Linked DNA regions of Homo sapiens: regions 1, 2 and 4 are each linked to region 3. Evidence: promoter capture Hi-C in 16 types of primary human blood cells and fetal thymus (Javierre and others, 2016). All regions are on one chromosome and are shown on one strand. The core of a region is centred on a gene start or on the middle of the fragment in contact, and the rest is flanking DNA. Distances in the headings are between cores, read along the strand shown. Region 1 overlaps RAD51B (RAD51 paralog B). Region 2 overlaps RAD51B (RAD51 paralog B). Region 3 holds the start of RAD51B-AS1 (RAD51B antisense RNA 1). Region 4 overlaps RAD51B (RAD51 paralog B).

What was found. The method cuts DNA at HindIII sites, captures the fragments that hold promoters and counts their contacts. A CHiCAGO score of 5 or more calls a contact.
Region 1: a contact is called between a fragment that was not itself captured here and the fragment with the promoter of RAD51B-AS1 in region 3, in 1 of 17 cell types (non-activated CD4 T cells). The highest score is 5.7, in non-activated CD4 T cells.
Region 2: a fragment that was not itself captured here is called in contact with the fragment with the promoter of RAD51B-AS1 in region 3 in 6 of 17 cell types (M0 macrophages, M2 macrophages, total B cells and 3 more); the score reaches 8.3 in M0 macrophages.
Region 4: a contact is called between a fragment that was not itself captured here and the fragment with the promoter of RAD51B-AS1 in region 3, in 7 of 17 cell types (M0 macrophages, non-activated CD4 T cells, total B cells and 4 more). The highest score is 7.6, in M0 macrophages.

The regions. Positions count from the first base shown.
Region 1 is chr14:68,420,330-68,423,334 of GRCh38, reverse strand. All of the region lies in intron 9 of RAD51B (RAD51 paralog B), which reads right to left. It also overlaps the pseudogene PPIAP6. Among named protein-coding and RNA genes, the nearest start is that of RAD51B-AS1, 260 kb to the left of the region's middle. The HindIII fragment of the contact is 1,658 bases long and covers 450-2,107 here.
Region 2 is chr14:68,400,556-68,403,373 of GRCh38, reverse strand. All of the region lies in intron 8 of RAD51B (RAD51 paralog B), which reads right to left. All of the region lies in intron 1 of LOC101927971 (a long non-coding RNA gene), which reads left to right. Among named protein-coding and RNA genes, the nearest start is that of RAD51B-AS1, 280 kb to the left of the region's middle. The HindIII fragment of the contact is 1,372 bases long and covers 868-2,239 here.
Region 3 is chr14:68,683,843-68,686,921 of GRCh38, reverse strand. It overlaps RAD51B-AS1 (RAD51B antisense RNA 1), which reads left to right and starts at 1,482. Exons shown (of 4, transcript XR_007064220.1): 1 at 1,482-1,551. RefSeq lists enhancers at 1,145-1,194, 2,778-3,079. The HindIII fragment of the contact is 3,133 bases long and covers 236-3,079 here.
Region 4 is chr14:68,369,826-68,372,882 of GRCh38, reverse strand. All of the region lies in intron 8 of RAD51B (RAD51 paralog B), which reads right to left. Among named protein-coding and RNA genes, the nearest start is that of RAD51B-AS1, 310 kb to the left of the region's middle. RefSeq lists an enhancer at 1-700. The HindIII fragment of the contact is 2,982 bases long and covers 1-2,790 here.

The DNA.
Region 1 (3,005 bases), core at 29-2,528, 260 kb after region 3:
GGCCGCTGGGGCTTTGGGGGGATTGTTTTCAATCCCTCCCAGACATACCAGGTGCCTTAGCTCTAATTCTTTAAGGTTTGTAAAGATGAGCCTCTTTCTGGAGTTTGACTCTCAGAGAATTCTGTTAGAGAATCACAGATCATAATCCCAGTTCACTCTTTCATTGCCAATTCTGAGTTGAGGATTCAGAAAATGGGCAGTGGGATACAACCATGGGAGCTGGGCTCTCCAAAGGTGTTCTCAAAATCATGGTCCCTTTGTAACAATAAAATGAATGTCCAACAGTCAAGCACACACAGTCTTTGTCTGAGATGCAAGAACTCTTAAGCTCTGCCAAGGTAAGAAGAGAAACTTCTAGAAAGAGACCCTCAGTGAAAAAAAACCTCGGCTTCAAGCATTCTAAGACAGTTGCCAGGAGCCACTGGCTGATTTAAAAATCCAGGGAAGCTTGGGGGCAGGGAGGGGACAACAAGGTAAGGTGAAGGTTACAGGAAGGAAGGAGTGACTATGTCAACTTTGCAGTAACTGAAAATTCCAAATTATTTACAGCGGCAGAAATCAGGAAAGCTCAATGATTTGTATTACATTTGAAAATTAATCACCCATCAGATAATGTGTAGCATATCATAAAATGTTATGGTAACATAATCAGACTAACATAAAGTCAAACAGAATGCTAGAGACTTATTTGATTCATTTCTCCTCAAACCTCCACAATGTAAACCTTTTGTCTGCTTCCCATTCCTCTACCCCTAATTTTTTTTTTTTTTTTTTTGAGATGGAGACTCGCCATGTCACCCAGGCTGGAGTGCAGTGGTGCGATCTTGGCTCACTGCAACTTCCACCTCCCGGGTTCAAGCAATTCCCTGCCTCAGCCTCCCAAGTAGCTGGGATTACAGGTGTCTGCCACCATACTTGGCTAATTTTTGTATTTTTAGTAGAGACGGGGTTTCACCACCTTGGCCAGGCTGGGCTCAAACTCCTGACCTCGTGATCCACCTGCCTCGGCCTCCCAAAGTGCTGGGATTACAGGCGTGAGCTGCCGCACCCAACCTCCTCTACCCCTAATTTTATAAGCTATTAAGAATTTGGGTGCTCTGCGGACGCCACCGCTGAGGAAAACCGTGTACTATTAGCCATGGTCAACCCCACCATGTTCTTTGAATTTGCCGTCGACAGCGAGCCCTTGGGCCATGTCTCCTTCGAGCTGTTTGCAGACAAGATCCCAAAGACAGCAGAAAATTTTCGTGCTCCGAGCACTGGAGAGAAAGGATTTGGTTATAAGGTTTCCTGCTTTCACAGAATTATTCCAGGGTTTATGTGTCAGGGTGGTGACTGTGAAGTCACCATAATGGCACTGGTGGCAAGTCCATCTACACGGAGAAATTTGAAAATGAGAACTTCATCCTAAAGCATACAGGTCCTGGCATCTTGTCCATGGCAAATGCTGGACCCAACACAAATGGTTCCCAGTTTTTCATCTGCACTGCCAAGACTGAGTGGTTGGATGGCAAGCACGTGCTCTTTGGCAAAGTGAAAGAAGGCACGAATATTGTGGAGGCATGGAGTGCTTTGGGTCCAGGAATGGCAAGACCAGCAAGAAGATCACCATTGCTGACTGTGGACAACTCGAATAAGTTTGACTTGTGTTTTATCTTAACCACCAGACCATTCCTTCCGTAGCTCAGGAGAGCACCCCTCCACCCCGTTTGCTCGCAGTATCCTAGAATCTTTGTGCTCTCGCTGCAGTTCCCTTTGGGTTCCATGTTTTCCTTGTTCCCTCCCATGCCTAGATGGATTGCAGAGTTAAGTTTATGATTATGAAATAAAAACTAAATAACAACAACAAAAAAGAAAGAATTTGGAAGGGCCTGAGGTCCCCCCACTCCACTCATTGCACCCATCAGTGACATCAAGAAAGGACTTGAAATGAAAACTAGCATTGTACCATGCTGTGCACCTCACAGCCACAGCCACCCCAGGAGATAAGCAGAGGCCACAGGCTCAGGCGGCGTAGCATCTCACAGCAGGGATACTCCCCCAGCAACAGCAGCCAGAAGACGAATGCTCCAAGCTGGACCTGCTTTAGCCACATGTGTGATAAGCTTTCAAATCTCACACACACAAGCAGAGGAAGGGGCACTTCAGAATCACAGGAAAATGCCAGGAGTATTTCAAAGTCAAATAATGCCTAGAGCAAGAGAAAAAAAGCAAGAAGAAGCTCCTCATCTCACTGCTTTCATGTTCCTGCCCCAGGGTGGGAGGGGCTATCCTAATACATAACTCACTAAGTTTTACAGGTAAACCAAATGACATTCTAGGTCTAATCATCGTTCAGGAAAGTCAGAGAGGAAGATAATAAGGACCATTCATTGCAACCCAGCAGAATCATCACCAAGTCAAGGCCTCCTTTTCTAGCACCTCATTTTATTCCTAAATTAAAACAGTGATAACTGTCAGAGGCATTTGAACCAGAGTGACTCTGTCTTGAAAACAAGCTGTAAAAATAAGGCTGAGACCTATTGGTCTGTATTCCCAGGAGGTTAGGCATTCCAAGTCACAGCATGAGATAGGAGGTCAGAAAAGATACAGGTCACAAAGACATTGCTGATAAAGCAGGTTGCAGTAAAGAAGTTGGCCAAAGCCCACCAATCCAAGATGATGATGAACATGATCTCTGGTGTCCTCACTGCTCATTATACGCTAATTATAATGCATTAGCATGTTAAAAGACACTCCCACCAACATCATGACAGTTTACAAATGGCATGACAACATCAGGAAGTTACCGTATATGGTCTAAAAAGGGGAGGAACGCCCAGTTCTGGGAATTGCCCACCTCTTTACAGGAAAACTCATGAATAATCCACTTCTTGTTTAGCATATAATAAAAAAAAAACCCATAAAAATAGCGAGCCAGCAGCTCTTCGGGTTGCTGTGCTGTGGAGTAGCCATACTTTATTCCTTTACTTTCTTAATAAACTTGCTTTCACTTTATGAACTCT
Region 2 (2,818 bases), core at 304-2,803, 280 kb after region 3:
GCCCTGCAGCAAAAGGGTCAACTTTAAAAGAATGCTTTTCCATGTTAAAAAAAAAAAAGTCAAAAAAACAAAGCAATGACTCCCAAAATAGGAACAGAGGGGAAGGAAAAGTTCATGGCCTTAGCGGACTGGATATTCTGGATATTTGGTCCCTCCAGTCCCTGCAGATGAAAGCCCATTTATTTAGAGTAGAAAGAGGAAATTTAAAAAAATAAAGGAATAACAATACCTACAAATGTTTTCAGGATTGAAATAAATCCAGGGAAGAAGATGGTATGTTACCACTGGAACTGCATTCTCGTTCATATCTCTTGTCCTCACGTCCTGAAGCACATTCCATGTAATGCATGATAGCCTGTGGCCAGCTGCTGGCTAGAAAGCAGGACCCTGCAGTTCTATTTCTGACTCCGTCTGGGCTTTTGATGAGACCAGGTGGGAGAAGGAGAGTAGTGTAACAAAGAACCTCAGAGTAGGCCTTGGTAATGAGCAGTTACCTAACCTCACTGAGCCTCAGTTTCCTCATCCATGACAAGAAGGGGTAAATGACCTCAATAGTTCCTGCCTTATTAAAAAACTTTGAGTCTTTGGTATTTTGATGATATGAATGAGTTCCTCATCGAGAACCTCACTTGTTCCAGGAAGTTTGAGAATGCACCACTCCATGCGCTGTCTTTGAATCGCTGTGCCCTACCCAGCACCCGTTTGTGCTTGAAAAGAGCACAGGCATGGGTTCTTTTGCTGATAGCAGATTTCTCTCCAGACTAGAGATTTTCTTAGTCTACCCTACTTAGTAAGACTTTATGATGGGTAAACCTGTGCTGACCAGTGGCCAAGTCCCAGCAAACACAACTTCATAGTAACAAAGCTTAAAGACGGGAGTCTGAGTGCGAGACTAGGGATCAGAAGGATTCAATTCATTCATTCAATTCATCATCCATTCAATTCAGCTTCTCCTGTTTAAAACTAGGCCCCTGGCACTTGCTGAGCATGGTTCTTTATTGGACCATCCATTTGAACTGGGGAAGGGACTGAGAATCTTGGTTACCTCTCTTGGCAGGTCATCAGTTCTTGTTCCATTCAATGCAGAATTTTAGCAACAAAAGGCGAAGAGGATGAGTAAGTTATTAAAGCTGGGAAACTGCCTATAATAGGTTATTTTTAGAATAAAGATTCAAGATGACCTACAAGCTCTGTGAGACCACAGGACAAAGGTGTCAAAGAAAAGAGACTGGGATAGGCTCAGACATTTATCTTCCAGCAAAATTAATTTCCTTGAGGGCTTGTGGTTCACTAACTGAATCTGTGAACCAGCTGTATTTAGGGTGCATTCTACTTCCTTGGGTCTCTAAAATTGACAATGGTCTATAGGTCAGGTTCCAACGGAAGTGATATTTCTGACCTAGCTCTATAAATAGAGCACTGGAAAAAACCCATCAGCTGCAATGGCTCAGGGACCACACGCTATCTATTAAGTAAGCAACCGCAGTATTTGTGCTACCATTTTAGATACGAAAAAATATATCTTTTGTTATTTATAATCTTCTGAGCTTTGAGATTCTCAAAATACTTTAAAGCTATTAGTCGTCTTTCAGATTTATAAATACAGGATCTGAGGCATAAAACTATGTAATAACTGCTTCAACTAATACCATTTACCCACCGAGGAAGGCATTTGGCTGGTAAAGAATGGGCTGCTTCACTTTAGTAAAGCAGAAAATTTCATTCCTGATGTCTCTTGGCTGGAGGTGAAAGGAGTGAATGCAGTCCAGAGGCTTTACTTGCACAACATACCTAGGCTGATGCAAGTCTCAGCAAACTCGTTACTGAGAAAGGTAAGAAATGTGAAGCAGAAGACAGGAAGAAGTGAGGCAATCAGAACCTCTGGAATGCAAGAGTTAGGGATGGATCCTCCATAGCACAAGGTAGGGGAGAAGCGGGGGTGAGCCATCCACTAGGCTAGAGACTGGTATGCACCAGCACAAATCACTCAACAACTCCACTGGCTCATGGACAGGGAGAAAATACCTTCAGTTTCCCAGAGTCTTAACAAAATACTTTAAGTTCTTATCCAACCAGGACATTTTTGAAAATGAAATGGGGACATTTTAATAGTTATACTGGGATAACAGAGATAAACTGAGCTTGCCCTGAGAAAACCAAGACATATGTTATCCTACAGAGATACTATGTAGGAACTGTCCAGAATCACAGTGAGCATGCTCACTTTATACGAAAAGCTTCAGTCTGTACTAGGATTCTCTGCTGTGTCTGCAGTGTCGATCATCAAGGTCTCAAAGATGGCAAGGAAAACAATAGTAGGCATAAGAAGAACAGAACTAGATTGTCTGAATAAAAAGAAGCAATCTCCTCCCATCAGCTCAACTCCCAACATTCTCCAGGAGGCCATGCCCCTGAACCTTTTCTCCAATACAGCTTTCCCCTTGCTACCTTCTACTTAAGGAAAGGAAAAAAAAAATCCTGAATGGTGACTTGTAGTGAAATCTCTTGACCTTTGCAAATAAGTTTTTAATTAAAAATAAATTCACTCATTACAGAAAACACATATTACCCTTAAGTAAATACTAGCAAAATAAAACAAAGAAAACAAAAACCTAACCATTTAAAGAAATCTGTGGCACTTTCTCTTTAAATTTAGCTTCATTCAAGACAAGCCAGAAAGATGCTTGCATAAAATATGTTTTTTTTCCCCCACAGTGTGTTCTATCTGTTCACCATGAAATCCTCAGACCACACCTTTCAGCTGTCCTGGTATGAGCTTTGCTTTCCTGCTCCCATTGTAGAGTCAGAGGCAGCAGGC
Region 3 (3,079 bases), core at 233-2,732:
TACAACATGGATGAAACTTGAGGACATTGTGCTAAGTGAAACAAGCCCGTCACACAAGAACCCTGCGTGACTCCACGTATGCAAGGTACTTAGAGTAGTCAAAATCATAAAGATGAAAAGGAGAATGGTAGTTGCCAGGGGCTGTGAGGAGGGGAAAGAGGAGTCAGTGTTTAATGGGCACAGAGTTTCAGTTTGGAAAGATGAAAAAGTTCTGGAGAGAGATGACGGGGAAGCTTATACAACGATGTGAATGTACTTAATGCCACTGAATTGTACACTTAAACATGGGTAAAATGGTAGCTTTTACGTTAGGTATATTTTACCAGGATAAAAAGTTTTTTGTGTTTGAAAATATACCCTCTAATAGACTCAGAGTTGCTGACAGGCCCTCTCCATGGGTTGATGTAACCGTCTCCTTACCTCAAGACGAGGTTGACCCATCCAAGATTGGAGGGAACTTATCCTATTTTCAGATTATTTCCAGGGAAGGGAGCCCATGACATTATTAGGCAATCTTTTCCAGTGTCTCAAAACCCCAGACATTCTGGGTACCAGACCTTTCCTGCTGCACCTGAAGTTGATTTTCCTTGGTCAGTAAGTGCTTTGTCAGGCCACAGACTTTTCATGCACTCAAAGGCTCTAGTTACACCATCCCTAGCGTAGATCTGATGGTGCCAAGTAACAAGCCAGCAAGTGGACTTTGGAGGCCCAGCAAGCCTCCCTGTCTCACAGGCTTCTCATCAGTATAATGGATAAACAGTGCGAGGCTTGGATTCCTAAGCAGTCCTGGGACACAGGCCCCGCCAGGCCCTGGCAGGTGAAGAGCCTACCATTTCTCACTTCATTTAGGATGTATAATAGTTTGTTGGACGCTAGAACTGTACCCTTTCAGATCTGTGTCTTTACTTTTCAGCTGGAGGCCTCTTGCTGACAGGGTAGCGTTTCCCAAAGACACGGGAGCTGAGCTGGTGAGTCATTTCAACAGCCCTTACACTCTCCTCTGACCAGAGACCACATGACATATTAATCAGCTGCTTGAAAGGTATACCTGGCAGGCATGTTTCCTGCAGCCTGGAAGATGCTGACCTCGTCAGCTTTGAAACATCAAAGGGCTAACAAGAGAACAACAGGCTGAGAAAGACCTCATCACCTGGGTGCCTGTTGACCGCAGCCTTGTAAGGCCCAACACAGCTGAGATGTGCTGTCTGGAGCTCGGAGGAAGTGGAGCTTTTTCTGCTGTGAGGACCCGCCTTCAGCCCCCTTTTGGGGCACAGGAAGGGGAGGGAGTGAGCCTAAATTGTGGCCCCATGCTTAGTGACTCAGATGTTACTGCTACCACAAAGGGAAATTCATGTGGGGGTGGACATCTCCAGAGACCTCACTCACCTGTGATTTGGGGGATAATAGCATCACTCATGTGTTCACGTGCCAGGCCTGTCACCCCGGAACATTAGTCAAAGGGCTGTGTTGACAGTGATTTCAACTCTTGAATTATACGAAGGACCTGGCCGCAAGAAGGCATTGAGCCCCGAGGAGGACAACAGGCCTCAGGTACTTCATGTGATTAAAGCTGAGACAAGGGGAGTCCCATGGGTCAGTCCTGTAACTGGGGTCTGATATACACTAGTGATAGGCATTAGCATAGTTTGCACATTATATGATAGTCTTGGTCCTTTTCATTTCCTGATAAGCTGGAATGTCTGACAGAGTAAATTCCAGATGCCCTTGTGGAATTCTCATTACGATCATGTTGCTAAGGAACTGTCTTCTACCTGTATGCAATTTGGAAATACTATTAATAGTATTAACATGGAGTTTTGCAGTGTGTGGGTTTATTTCTTATTGTATTTATAATCACCCCCACCACTACCTTCCCACCGCTGGCTCACCATCTGAGGAGCTGGCATCAGGAAACTCAAGAAAGAAGGAAGGAAGGAAGGAAGGAAGGAAGGAAGGAAGGAAAGAAGGAAGGAAGGAAGGGAAAGGTTGTCCAGGCTTCACAGGAAGAACTGCATTTGTATTATTCTGTATTGAATTCTCAGGACCTCCACATTGCAGGCATCTAGAGGCTCCAATTAATAGTTGATAAATCTTGAAGGGAGGAAAAAATAGTCACAGAAAGTTCACTTGAGTGACCTGAAATTCTATAGCAATTTAGCCAGGGAGCCGGGAGGAGAATATGCCCTTCCAACTTGCAGGCCAGCTCTCTGCAGGAAGCCAGGCAGCTCTCCCAGGGGAAGCAGTGGCCAGGGCAAGCATGGGTCTTGAAGCTCAGGACTGGCTTTAGGACTCTGGCTCAGACAAGATGGGTGGCTCAAAGGTATTGAAGGGCTAGGTAGGGCCCTGAAAATTGGGCCTTTCTGCAGCAATCATCAGGGAGACTAATGGTCCTGGGCTAGGGAAGGAGTCTTCTTGGCCCAGAATGGCCAAGCAGCCAAATATTAGAGCACCTCCAGGGAGGTGTCCCTGGAAAGGGTCCTCCCCCAGTCAGCTCCTGCGGAGTGCAGGCAGGTTTGGGGGTCTCTCCTCTAGGAGAGATCCAGGGAGCTTGAGAGCAAAAGTGACAATGTGCCTGCCTTCTTCCTTCTCTGTAGGGCTCTGTTCTCTTTCTTCTTTTTTGAGGCAGGATCTTTTGCTTTATTGTCCAGGTTGGAGTGCAGTGGCATGATCACGGCTCACTGCAGCCTCAGCCTCCTGGGCTCAAGCAATCCTCCCACCTCAGCTTCCTGAGTAGCTGAGACCATGCCTGGCTAATTTTTAAGTTTTTTTGTAGAGACGAGGTCTCATTGTGTTGCCCAGGCTGGTCTTGAACTCCTGGGCTCAAGCAATTCTCCCACCTCAGCCTCCCAAAGCACTGGGATTATAGGCGTGAGCCACTGTGTCTGGCCTGCTCTCTTTCTTAAGGAGAAGGCTTCTGTTATTTTTTGGTCAATTGGGTGCAGAAAGCCTGTTCCCCATGGACAACCCTTGAGGGGGTCAGAATGTCAGCAGAAGGGAAAGGATGGCTTTCCAAGAGTGTTCTGTGCTTGGGCATAACCGTCTCTTGTGTCCTGCTCCTGAGAGCCATGAGACTAAGAGC
Region 4 (3,057 bases), core at 50-2,549, 310 kb after region 3:
TTGATTAGAGAACTTCCCAGATGGTATTTATGTATTATGTTCTCTCACATATATTTGAATTCTACTCAAATGCTGTTAGTTTTCTAGGGTTAATTGAAAATCTGATATTCTAAGATCCTTGTTTGGTGTTCTGGTAACTAGAAAGTTAAAAAGTTGGGCTTATGAGTATACCTTTACTTTTCTTCTGGAGTCCCCAAAAGAGCCAAACAGAACTTTCTTCCCTCTTTAAAGTGGTGACATAAGTTTTTAATGACCCTCTTTTCTGTTTCTCTCCAGGAATCCTGCTGTGATGTACTCCATTCTTAGGGTAATGAATTTGCTTTTGTATCTCTTGAAGCAGTCTTGCTTCAGCCTAAGGCCAGCCCATACACTTGGACGAGCATCTCAATCCCTTCTAATACCTTTGAGGTCTTTTACCAATGGTTACCTATCCTTTCCTCTCCAGCATTACTACATGTTCTCTTTTTGCTGCATTATGTACATCAATATCAAAATGCGAAATAAAAAACACCCACCTTAAAAAAAAAACCTCCTTTGACTTCCCCAGCTACCACTCCATTTCACTGTTTCCATTTGTAGTGAAAAACCTTAAAGAATTGAACATGCTCTTTGTTTTTCTCTTTAACCTACCCCAGGCAGGCTTATGTCCCCTACACTCTACTGAAATCACTCTTGTCAAGGTCACCATTGATTGTATCTGCCAAATCCAAGGGTCAATTCTCAGTCCTCATCTTATTGGACCTCTTAGCAGCACTGGACCTAACTCCTTGCTTCTTGAAATATTAGCTTCACTTGGCTTCCAGAAAAAGCACACTCTCATGGATTTCTTCCCACCTGATCCTCTCCTCCCTGCCAGTCTCCTTTGCAGGTTTCTCTTCTATTCTAAATGTTGATGTATCCCCAGGATCAATCTCTGCCATATTCTCACTACAGCTCAGCCCATTCTCCTGAGCTCTAGACTCAGACTCATTTATTCAGCTGCTTTGTCATTGTCCACTTGCATATCTTTCTCTTCTTATTTATTTATTTTTTGAGACAGGGTCTCACACTATGGCCTAGGTTGGAGTGCAGTGGCACAATCAGGGCTCACTGTAGCCTTGGCCTTCCAGGCCCAAGCCATTCTCCCACCTCAGCCCCCCAAGTAGCTGGGACTACAGGTGCACACCACCAGGCCTGGTTAATTTTGTTTATTTTTTTTGTAGAGACAGGGTCTCACTGTGTTTGTTGCCCAGGTAACTGGTCTTGAATTCCTAGGCTTAAGCAATCCTGCTGCCTCAGCCTCCCAAAGTGCTGGAAGCCACCACGCCCGGTCACTTACATATCTCAAATGCAACTATTCTAGGACAGAACCCCTTTTTTTTTTCTTCAGATGGAGTCTCATTGTGTCGCCAGGCTGAAATGCAGTGGCGTGATCTCAGCTCACTGCAACCTCCGCCTCCCGCGTTCAAGCAATTCTTCTGCCTCAGCCTCCCAAGTAGCTAGGACTACAGGCATGCACCACCACGCCCAGCTAATTTTTGGTATTTTTAGTAGAGACGGGGTTTCACCACGTTGGCCAGGATGGTCTCCATCTCTTGACCTTGTGATCTGCCTACCTCAGCCTCCCAAAGTGCTGGGATTACAGGCGTAAGCCACCACACCCGGCCCTCTAGGACAGAACTCTTAATCCCCTAACCTGCACCTCCCACCCCAATCTGTTCTCTTCAACATTCTAGATTTTTTTGGCCTAAATAACTCTAGGAATGGAAAAAATGACACCATTCTCAGTTGTTTAAGATAAAAAATACACAGATAATTCTTTTTTTTTAATTTTCTTTTCTTTTTTTCTTTTTTTTTTTTTTTTTTTGAGACAGAGTCTTGCTCTGTTGCCCAGGCTGGAGTGCAGCAGCACAGTCTTGGCTCACTGCAGCCTCCACCTCCCAGGTTCAAGTGATTCTCCAGCCTCCACTTCCTGAGCAGCTGGGACTACAGGTGTGTGCCACCACGTCCGGCTAATTTTTTTTTGTATTTTTAGTAGAGATGGGGTTTCACCATATTGGGTCGAACTCCTGACCTCGTGATCTGCTCGCCTCAGCCTCCCAAAGTGCTGGGATTACAGGCATGAGCCACTGCGCCCGGCCAATTCTTCATTTTTTAAAATACACTTCACATTCAATCTGTTTGCAGATTTTGTAAGGAATGTCTTCATATTTATCTTGAATCTGACCACTTGCCATCCCCTATACCACACCCCCCAGTCTGAGCCACCATAATCTCTCTCCTGGATTAGTGTTATGTTTGCTGACTTGTCTCCTGGCTTTCATGTGGCCCCCTTACAGTCTATACTCCTACAGAGCAGGCCAAGTAATCTTCCTAAACTGTCAGTCAAGTCATGTCCATCCCTGGCTGAAAACTTTGCATTATGCTTAGGATAAAATCCAAGTTCTTTACCTAGTTTTACATACCCTAGCCCTCTCCAGTCAACTTACAGGCCTTACTAGGTTGTTGTGAATATAAAACTACGTACACAAAGGAACTTTAAAATTATTAGGTGCCATAAATAGATGTTATTGTTGTTGCTATCATTATTATTGGATCAGTTGCCCTTTGGTAAAGAGTTTTAAACATGTCTTCTAAATGTAAACTGTAATTTCTGCCAATGGCTATATGTGATTACAGACAGATCTTGTAACAGGCAAATCCCTTCCTTCTTGTTAACCCATTTATGCCAGAGGTTGCAAAATTTTTATGTGAAAAATCAGACCTTGGTGATGAGCTTAAGCATGAGGATATAAATAACTCCCACAAGCTTAGTGTTCCACTAATGGAACACTAGGCATAAATGGGTTAATAGGTTCAGTCATTATCCTCCTGCTATATATTTAACTTTGTCTTTTTTCCCTTCTGGATTTGAGATGTCCCTTGCAGGAAACAGCAGCTGTGCCACTAACCCTGGACATTGTCCAAGGCCATTTCCATATCCTGTGAGAGAATCATCCCCTCGAAGTTTGTTTTTGCAGCACAAAATAGAAGAAAGATCAAGAAAAAAATATATAGACAGATATAGATATATAGTAT